2 separate regions of the Homo sapiens genome follow, and region 1 is linked to region 2. Evidence: promoter capture Hi-C in 16 types of primary human blood cells and fetal thymus (Javierre and others, 2016). All regions are on one chromosome and are shown on one strand. Each heading gives the region's core, a stretch centred on a gene start or on the middle of the fragment in contact. The rest is flanking DNA. Distances are from core to core; before and after follow the strand shown.

Region 1 (5,323 bases), core at 2,513-5,012, 150 kb after region 2:
GCCCGCCACCATGCCCAGCTATTTTTTGTGTTTTTAGTAGAGATGGGGTTTGGCCATGTTGGCCAGGCTAGTCTCGAACTCCTGACCTCAAGTGATCCACCCGCCTCAGCCTCCCAAAGTGCTGGGATTACCAGTGTGAGACACTGTGCCCAGCCTGCTTGGTGGTTTGGAGCATGCCCCTTGGAGAATCTAGACCTTTAATTGAGACCTAATTCTGCCACTTAACCAGCTATGAACTTGAGCAAGCTACTTTATATATCTTTGCCTTCCTCCATTCCTTGTCTGTAAAATGAAAAGAATAATACCACCATCTTGGTAGGGCAACCAGGCAGAAGATCAATAATGAAATAGAGGAGCTGAATAACACTATAGGCCAAATGGACCTAACAGACATATACAAAACACTCCAATCAACAACAGCAGAGTACACATTTTTTTTAAACTGCAGATGGATCATTCTCCAGGATAGACCATATGTTAGGCGACAAGTTTTAATACATTTAAAAGAATTGAAATCATACAAAGTATCTTTTTTGTGTGTGTGAGATGGAGTCTCCCTCTGTTGCCCAGGCTGCAGTGCGGTAGTGCGATCTCGGCTAACTGCACCCTCCGCCTCCTGGGTCCAAACAATTCTCCTGCCTCAGCCTCCCAAGTAGCTGGGATAACAGGCACCTGCCATCACGCCCGGCTAATTTTTGTACTTTTAGTAGAGACTGGGTTTCACCATGTTGGCCAGGCTGGTCTCGAACTCCTGACCTCAAGTGATCCGCCTGCCTCGGCCTCCCAAAGTGCTGAGATTACAGGTGTGAGCCACCGTGCCCGGCCTCAAAGTATCTTTTTTCATCAAAATGAAAAATTAGAAATCAATAGCAGAAGGAAAAGTGGAAAATCCACAAATATGTGGAAATCAAACAACCAATGAATCAAAGAACAAATCACAGAGGAAATTAGAAAATATATGAGACAAAGCAGGGGGCGGTGGCTCATGCCTGTAATCCCAGCATTTTGGGAGGCTGAGATGGGTGGATCACTTGAGGTCAGTGACAGCAGGAGCATCGCCATCTTGGCATCTTGGACAAGCCACTCATTCTAAAGTTCACCTTAATAAAAAAATCACCTAAATCCAAGGGGCATCAGCCTAATGGCTATGGTCAACATGACCATAAACCACAGATAACATCTCCAACCAGAAACATTCCAAACTCCTCCCTGACCGGAGACATGCTAGCCCCTAAATTAGCCCCCTCCAGACAGGAAGATGCTAGCCCAGATAACCCCCCTCGGGCCAGAAAGATGTCTGCCCCAAAATAACCTCCCCTCCTCCCAGAGAGATTCCAGCCCCGTCATAAACTTCTCCACACACATAAACATTCCAAGCTTGTGATAACCCTAAAACCGATATGTACTCTTAGTCTGTAAGAGAAAGTGCTCCTGACCACAATCTGCCAGGAGTGTCTTCAGGTTTTGACTAAAGAAAACCTGTCTTTAACTGCCAGCGGCGTTTCAACTTTCTTTCCTCTTTCTTTAACTCTGACAGTCAGAAGTTTGAGACCAGCCTGGGCAACATGGTGAAACCCCGTCTTTATTAAAAATACAAAAATTAGCCAGTTGTGACGGTGCGTGCCTGTAATCCCAGCTACTCAGGAGGCTGAGGCAGGAGAATTGCTTGAACGCAGGAGGTGGAGGTTGCAGTGAGCTGAGATTGCACTCCAGCCTGGGTGACAGAGTACTCAGTCCAAAATTTATGAAATGCAGTGAAAGCAGTGCTAAGAGGGAAATTTATAGCTATAAACAAACTAGTAAAGAAGAAAGATCTCAAATCAACAACCTAACTTTATGCCATAAGGAAGTTGAAAAAAAATAAAAACAAACTAAGCCCAAAGCCAGCAGAAGAAAGGAAATAATAAAGATTAGAGCAGAGTTAAACAAAACAGGAATCGAAAAATAATAGAGAAAGTCAACAAAATCAGGAGTTGGTTTTTTGAAAAGAATAAAAAAATGGACAAACTTGTAGCTAAACTGAGGAAGTAAAAAAGAAGGAAGACTCAACTAAAATCAGAAGTGAAAGAGGGGACATTATTACTAATTTTACAGAAATAAAAATTATTATAAGGGAGTACTATGCACAATTATGCACCAGCAAATTGGATAATCCAGATAAAATGGACAAATTCCTAAAAACATATACCCTACCAAGACTGAATTATGAAGAAATAGAAAATCTGAACAGACCTAGAACTATAAAGAAGACTAAATCAGCAATATAAAACCTCCCAACAATTCACTGAAAAAAATCTTCCAAACATTTAAAGAAAAATTAACACCAATCTTTCTCAAACTCTTTCAAAAAAATGGAAGAAGAGAGAATAATTTTTAACTCACCCTGCGAGGCCAGCATTATCATGATACCAAAGCTAGACAAAGACACTCCAAGAAAAGAAATCACTGGGATGCAAAAATCTGCAAGAAAATACTAGCAAATAGAATTCAACAGCCCATTTAAAGAATTATACATTATGACCAAGTGGAATTTATCCTTGAATGGAAGGATGGCTCAAATCACAAAAATCAATCCATGTATTAATAATACACCATAGGCCAGAAGCCGTGGCTCATGCCCATAATCCCAGTACTCTGGGAGGCTGAGGCGGGCAAATCACTTGAGGTCAGGAATTTGAGACCAGCCTGACCAACATGGTGAAACCTCGTCTCTACTAAAAATACAAAAATTAGCCAGGTGTGGTGCCACATTCCTGTAATCCCAGCTACTCGGGAGGCTGAGGCAGGAGAATCGCTTGAACCTGGTAGGCAGAGGTTGCAGTGAGCCACGATTGCTTGCCACTGCACTCCAGCCTGGGGGACAGAGCAAGACTCTGTCTCAAAATAATAATAATAATAATAATAATAATACACCATAAAAACAGATTGAAAAGGGAAACACGCATGATAATCTGTACTGATGCAGAAAAAACTCTTGACAAAATCCAACACCCTTTTATGATACAAAACACTGAACAAGTAGAAGGAAACTACCTCAACATAATAAAGGTCATATATGAAAAGCCCACAGCTAACATCATAGTCAATGGCTAAAGACTAAAAGCTTTTTCCCTGAGATCAGGAACAAGACAATTCTTTTTTTTTTTTTTTTTTTGAGACGGAGTCTTGCTCTGTCGCCCAGGCTGGAGTACAATGGCTCGATCTTGGCTCTTGGCTCACTGCAACCTCTGCCTCCCAGGTTCAAGTGATTTTCCTGCTTCAGCCTCCCTAGTAGCTGGGATTACAGACCCCTGCCACCATGCCCCACTAATTTTTGTATTTTTGTAGAGATGGGGTTTCATCATGTTGGCCAAGCTGATCTCGAACTCCTGACCTTAGGTGATCCACCTGCCTCGGCCTCCCAAAGTGCTGGGATTACAGGCATGAGCCACCGTGCTCGGCCAACAATTTCCACTCAACACAGTACTGGAGGGTCTAGGCAAAGCAATTACTCAAGAAAAACAAGTAAATGGCATCCATATTTGAAAGGAAGAAAAACATTATTTCTGTTCACAGATAATAAGACTTTACATTTAGAAAACCCTACATATAGGCCGGGCACGGTGGCTTACACCTATAATCCTAGCACTTTGGGAGGCCGAGGCGGGCAGATCACCTGAGGTCAGGAGTTCGAGACCAGCCTGACCAACATGGAGAAACCCTGTCTCTACTAAAAATACAAAATTAGCCGGGCGTGGTGGCTCATGCCTGTAATCCCAGCTACTCGGGAGGCTGAGGTGGGAGAATTGCTTGAACCTGGGAGGTGGAGGTTGCAGTGAGCTGAGATCGCGCCATTGCACTCCACCCTGGGCAACAAGAGCGAAACTCAAAAAAAAAAAAAAAAAGAAAACCCTAAATATTTCTGAAAATTATTAGAACTGATACATGAATGTAGCAAAGTTGCAGGATAAAAAATCAACATGCAAAGTCAGTTACATTTCTATATGCCAAGAATTAACAATCTGATAAGATAAATTTTAAAAACTATTTTATTTATTTATTTTTATTTTATTTATTTATTTATTTTTTTGAGACAGAGTCTCGCTCTGTTGCCAGGCTGGAATGCGGTAGCGCGATCTCAGCTCACTGCAACCTCCGCCTCCTGGGTTCAAGTGATTCTCCTGCCTCAGCCTCCAGAGTAGCTGGGATTACAGGCACGTGCCACCACGCCCAGCTAATTTTTGTATTTTTAGTAGAGACGGGGTTTCACCATGTTGGCCAGGATGGCCTTGATCTCTTGACCTCATGATCCACTTGCCTCAGCCTCCCAAAGTTTACAGGCTGTAATCCCAAAGGGATTACAGGTGTGAGCCACTGCACCTGGCCAAAACTATTTTATTTATAATAGTATCGAAGAGAATAAAATGCTTAGAATAAGCTTAATCAAGGAGACGAAAGACTTGTACAATAAAAACTATAAAACATTGGTGAATAAAATTAGGGCACAAATAAATAGAAAAAGGTCTCATGTCCATAGAATGTATGACTTACTGTTGTTAAGATGTTTATACTATGCAAAGCAATCCACAGGTTCAAATCCTATCCAAATCCCAATGATATTTTTTGCAGAAATAGAAAAATCCATACTAAAATTATAATTAATATGAAATCTCAAGGGACCCCAAATAGCCAAAACAGTCTTTTCCTTTTTTTGAGATGAAGTCTCACTCTGTCACCCAGGCTGGAGTGCAGTGGCACCATCTGGGCTCATTGCAACCTCCGCCTCCCAGTTTCAAGCAATTGCCCTGCCTCGGCCTCCTGAGTAGCTGAGATTACAGGTGTACACCACCATGCCCAGCTAATTTTTGTATTTTTAGTAGAGATGGGGTTTCACCATGTTGGGCAGGCTGGTCTCAAACTCCTGACCTCGTGATCCGCCTGCCTCGGCCTTCCAAAGTGCTGGGATTACAGGTGTGAGCCACCGCACCTGGCTGAAAACAATCTTAAAAAAGAACAAAGCTGGAGGACTCGCCCCCTCCTGATTTCAACAAAGCTACAATAATCAAAACAGTGTGGTACTGGCATTAAAAAAAAGACATATAGACCAATGGAATGGGGTAGACAGCCCCAAAATAAACCATTGCATATATGGTCAAATGATTTTCAACAAGGATGACAAGACCATTCAATGGAGAAAGGACAGTCTTTTCAAAAATTGATGTTGGGAAAACTGGATATCCACATACAAAAAAAATGAAGTAGGACTCATATACAAAATTAACTCAAAATAGATCAAAAACATAAATATAAGACCTAAAACTATAAAACTCTTAGAAGAAAACAT
Region 2 (5,146 bases), core at 83-2,582:
GCTAGTGACAGCTCATATCAAGCCCAGTATTTAAGGAGCGTGATTACTTTTACTACGTAGTTCCCAGGGAGAAAAGCAACTCAAAACATTTTTGTATCTTTTTGTATCTTGTTGCACAAGATACAAAATTGTGCACTAAGATACAAATTGAAACTCGAATTGAAATTTGGCTGCCAATTTATTAAACCCACCCCAACAATCTTCCCTATTAACAACAACAACAACGAAGAGATCTCAGGATACCCATTTTCATGTGTAATATAAACCGATGCCACCCATCTATCATATCCATCTAAATCTAATAATTCAGCTTTTTGTTTGGCGGGAGTACGACAGGTCTTTATATGATTCAATGTTACAAAGTTTTTCAGAGGACAAATGATGAAAGTGTGAACCCACGGCTATGATGAAGCCGCAGTCTCTTTGAGTACAGAATCATGAGCTAGATATAAAGAACTGGCTTTAAATTCTGAAGTAGATCTTGCTTTTAAATGTTATAGTGGTGGGTAATAATTTCCTTTGCTTCAGTTACTATTTAAAAAGTAAATATGTGTAGATGAAAATGCAGGATTTAAAAAAATCTACTTTGTAGAATAGGATACCTATCATTTATATTAAGCCCAATGCGTGGGAAACGGATCAATGACTTGATGCGGTGCCTATAAAACATTATAATCCAAAGTTGCATTAGGACATAAAAATAACTGCTGATAAAAGTTTACTCAAAGTAGCATCTGCCCCTAATTCAGTTTGTATTTTTATCGTAAAGACCTAAGGCGCCGCGGGAACTAGGCTGTGCGTTCGCCCCCCGCGGCAGACGGCGGCGCGCGGCGCCTCTGGAGCGCCCCTCCGAAGCCCCGTGGGGGCGGCCGTGGCCCCGGGGCAGCCGCTGGCGAGCACCCCAGAGGTCCGAGCCCTCCGAGCCCCAGGTGCCCGGGGCCCGAGCCCCGCCTGCCACTCTCCCCAGCTGCCTTTCCAAACGGCGGCGTGCTGGTGGAGAGAGTTTTCCCGCACCTTGTTCGCCCGTCAGAAAGCGGCGCCGGGAGGGAGCGAGCGTGAGAAAGTGAGCGTGTGCGCTGCAGGAGAGCACGACCCAAGAGCCGGCGCCCGGTGTCCGAGCGCCCAGTCCGCCCTGTCCGCCCCCGGACCCGCGAAGGGCGGGGGCCCGGAGCAGCGAGGCGCGGGAAGCGAGGCCGGCGGGTGCCGGGGGTTGGCGGGACGCGCGCTTCGTGCCGGCGCCGGCCTCGAGCCCGCGCTCCCTCCCCCCGCCCGCGTGCCCGCGCCGCTGCGCGATGCAGTGTGGGGAATGGCTGGGGTTGGCTGAAGAGCGCACAGTGGAGTTTTAATGTCCGCCATGTTGGCCATGGCGTATTGAAGAGAGCGAGCGAGAGAGGAGCGGAGCGGCACAGCCTCCCACCCTCCCGGCTGGTGTTAGTGCCCGGACGGCGGGCTCTGCGCTCCGCCCCTCAAGTCCCCGGCAGCGGTTGGCGAGTGGGGACCGAACCCCCGGTTCTCCATGATCCCGCTGGCCGGGGCCGTTTCCCCAGAGCGGAGAGGTATCTGCTGCGCCTGAGATGAGTAAACTGTCGTTTCGGGCGCGGGCGCTAGACGCCTCGAAGCCGCTGCCGGTTTTCCGCTGTGAGGATCTGCCCGACCTGCACGAATACGCCTCGATAAACAGGGCCGTGCCGCAGATGCCCACCGGAATGGAGAAGGAAGAGGAGTCGGTACGTGTTAACTCCCCTGTCCGACCCACCGTCAGGCCCGCTCCCTCTGCTGCCTGCGGCGGCGGCGGAGCAGCAAACCCACACAAAATGGCCGCCATCTTCTCTTCGCCGCCGACTCTCAGTCGCCGGCCGGGCCTATACCCCGCCTCCCCCAGCCTCGACCCCCGGCCGCCGCGGCCCAGCGGGGCCCCTTCTAAGGCCACCCGCTGACCCTGGCCACTTGTACCCGGGTCCCGCGGAGTTCGGGGGCCCGAAAGGCACAAAGGGGTCACGTGACGAAGCTGCCGGCAGCCATTTTGTGTCTTAGTTCTTGGGTTGGGCCTTGTGCATCCGGAGAGGGGAACGGGCTGGGTGGCTGTGGGGGTGCGGCGAGTCGGGAGCCGTGGAGGACCCGCCTACAGGCCTCTCCGTGGGCCGCTGGGTGGCGCTCCAGGGCCACTGCGGCCTGCGCGCCGCTGCCCGGGCCGGGAGCGCAGGTTCTGTGCACAGTCGGGGAATTTGATTGCCCCATGGTCTGGGAAGCTTGTTGGGCTCAGTGCAGCCCCCACGTGGAGCCTCAGACGGGCATGTCATGTCGCCTGCTGCTCTATGAGGCTTTTCTCCCCCTCTGCAAGGAAATGTCGAGGGTGCAGCGTGTTTGCCCGGACGACTTACTTTTCTAGAAGATAAGACTTACTTTCAGTGTCCTCTTTCTGGGACGTTTGTATCCATCCCTCTCCAGAGCTAGTTGGTCGGAGGATAATAAACCACTATCCCTGACTTTTTCTGTGATCCTTGCGAATATCTTGCAGATTTGTTTGGAGTACCTCTCTCTTCTGAAGCCTGTAACCTTACCTATTTGTAAAATAAATTTAAGTTCTCCTGCTCTCTGGTATCTCAACATAGGGGGAGAAAAGACCCAATTTAAGTAACTTTTATAGATCTAAATTTCGAAGGAGGATCCTTTCTTATTCAAAACCGAACTAAAACTAAGTGACTTGATTCACAGAAATCTTAATATTGAGATGTCTAAATTGGGTGGGTTTCAGCACGTAAATGTTGACAACTAATAGACATTTTACCATCGCTGTGGCTTTACCTTGTTGTGGAAGTTGGGTTCGGACACCAGGATAATAGAATCTTCCTCTCATTTCCCCCAGATCCTTGACAGTATAACTTGATGACTTCTAATCCTAAGGAATTGCATACCTTGGTTTTCAGGTACAGCCATTTAAACAGGGTGCAGTGTATTGACAGTTCAAGGAAGTCCAGGAGTCGCGTGGATTTGTGTGCTACAATTTTGTTGTGGAAAATTGTACTGTAATACTTCTCTTGGTACTGTAAGAATTTTTAATGTAGAAATTATGCTCTGTAATGTTGTTTTTGGAAATAAAACTGTTTAAACTCTTTGGGTTGTTTAACCTTTTAAAGTGAAATAGCTGTGACAGTGAAATGTTACTTTTGAGAGTAGTGTCTTAAATCTAACTTTACAGATAAGCCAAGTGTATGTAGTAGCTCAGATTGTCTAGTTGGGCACTGACTTTCAGCACATTGTCTCATGAGACACTACCTCTTAATTTATTTTACTTGTATCAACTTTAGAGTAGCATGGCCATTTGTTTATTTTTTAATAAGTGATTTGTTTTTAAAAATTAAAGTACTTGTGACTGCAGAATCTTGTCTTTTGGTTTTATTTTTATTTCTAAGTTTTACAGATAATACTTTCAAGTATTGGGGTGTTGGTTTTACCCTGCCCTGGAAATTAATTTGTAATTCTTGTTCAGCAGCCAAGGAAGGGGAAAGCCTTGATTAAAGCAAGACAGCACAACAGTACACTTTAGACTTTAGTTAAGTCTTGCTTCTGTGAATACTTTGGACAGTCCCAAGAGTTACAACCTGAAGTCAGAGCTGAGCTCAATGAAGTATCAGTGCTTGTTAAATTTTACGGGTAATTTTTATTCGCTGAAATAATTTAGATTTTTCTTCTTTTCTTTTCTGAGATGGAGTCTCACTCTGTTGCCCAGGCTGGAGTGCAGTGGCAGCATCTCGGCTCACTACAACCCTCCGCCTCCCGAGTTCAAGTGATTCTCCTTCCTCAGCCTCCCCAGTAGCTGGGATTATAGGCGCTTGCCACCGCGCCCGGCCGATTTTTATACTTTTAACAGAGACGGGGTTTTGCCATGTTGGCCAGACTGGTTTTGAACTCCTGACCTCAGGTGATCCGCCCGCCTCGACCTCCCAAAGTGCTGGGATTACAGGCATGAGCCACCGCGCCCGGCCAATTTTGACATTTTATACTGCAGTGGCTATCAATAGTTTGTAACATGTGGAGTCCCTAATTTTGAAACACAGGGATTTTTTTTTTTCTTCAGATTGCCTTTTCCAAATATCTGTTTAGAATTTTTCACTTCACATCCAACCAAAGCTATGTATGAGGAGAGAAGCATAGACCTCAAGAATAGACACTGAACCTAATGGAAGAATGTAAAAAGTACCTGGTAAACAAGCTGCTTTACAGTCCTGTGGTTCATGCTGTTAGTGGTAGGGTGTGTAAATCATAATATTGAAAGTAGTGTGTTATGCAGTGTTGAAAAGGTATATTAAACATAAAGGTAATTGAATTCTGGATTCTCCATAGAAAAACAAACTTTTTGATGTGCGGAAGTATTTTGTACTTCTAATAAAGAGGAAGGGTTAAAGCAAACTTCTGCCTTTAACTGACACATTAGTTATTTGTTATCTTATTAGGTCACTGTAACCTAGAACCTGAACTGACTGTCTTAGAAAAAAAAGTATGTAGTCCTATGTTGGTCCTGAAAGGTGAGGGCAGTTTTTTTATACACCACCTGATTAAAGCATTTTATTGATCAAAATAATCTGCAGAATTGTCATGTGAAATACACCTAGTAATTGTTACGTTGTTTCTGGATATACTTGACAGAAATCCAGGTCTTTTAACATTGGGAAAATAAGTATTATTCGTGTATTCCCATTTAACCAGTTTTAATACTATGAGCTGCACACACGGGCCTAACGAGGCAGACTTTTTAAGAAACAACTTTAAGTAGAAGCCCTTACACCCCCCCCCCAAAATAATTTGGAGGCAGAAAATGTTACTGAACTTATCTATTTTTTTAATTGTAGTAGTACTGAAAAAGTAACTTCAGATTGTGGTAAATTGAAGGATTTGACTGGGTCAAAGATGTTAGAGATTAAATGTGAATTCGCAGAATGTAATGCATCGAAATTTGCTAAGTCTGAAAGTAACAGATTGGCAGGATGCGGTGGCTCACGCCTGTAATCCCAGCACTTTGGGAGGCCGAGGCGGGTGGATCACCTGAGGTCAGGAGTTCGAGACCAGCCTGGCCAACATGGTGAAACCCTGTCTCTACTAAAAATACAAAAATTAGCCAGCCGTGGTGGCAGCTGCCTGTAATCCC

Evidence for each region. Contacts are between HindIII fragments. The CHiCAGO score rates a contact against its expected background, and 5 or more counts as called.
Region 1: a contact is called between a fragment that was not itself captured here and the fragment with the promoter of EPC1 in region 2, in 1 of 17 cell types (total B cells). The highest score is 6.5, in total B cells.

The regions. Positions count from the first base shown.
Region 1 is chr10:32,193,600-32,198,922 of GRCh38, reverse strand. No RefSeq gene overlaps it. Among named protein-coding and RNA genes, the nearest start is that of KIF5B, 140 kb to the right of the region's middle. RefSeq lists a silencer at 2,571-2,764. The HindIII fragment of the contact is 1,314 bases long and covers 3,106-4,419 here.
Region 2 is chr10:32,343,344-32,348,489 of GRCh38, reverse strand. It overlaps EPC1 (enhancer of polycomb 1), which reads left to right and starts at 1,332. Exons shown (of 14, transcript NM_001272004.3): 1 at 1,332-1,727. The coding sequence starts at 1,575. EPC1-AS1 (EPC1 antisense RNA 1) reads right to left here and starts at 1,126. Exons shown (of 2, transcript NR_104163.1): 1 at 1,015-1,126. RefSeq lists silencers at 742-871, 882-1,351, 2,022-2,301 and enhancers at 1,622-1,681, 1,702-1,801. The HindIII fragment of the contact is 3,163 bases long and covers 1-2,251 here.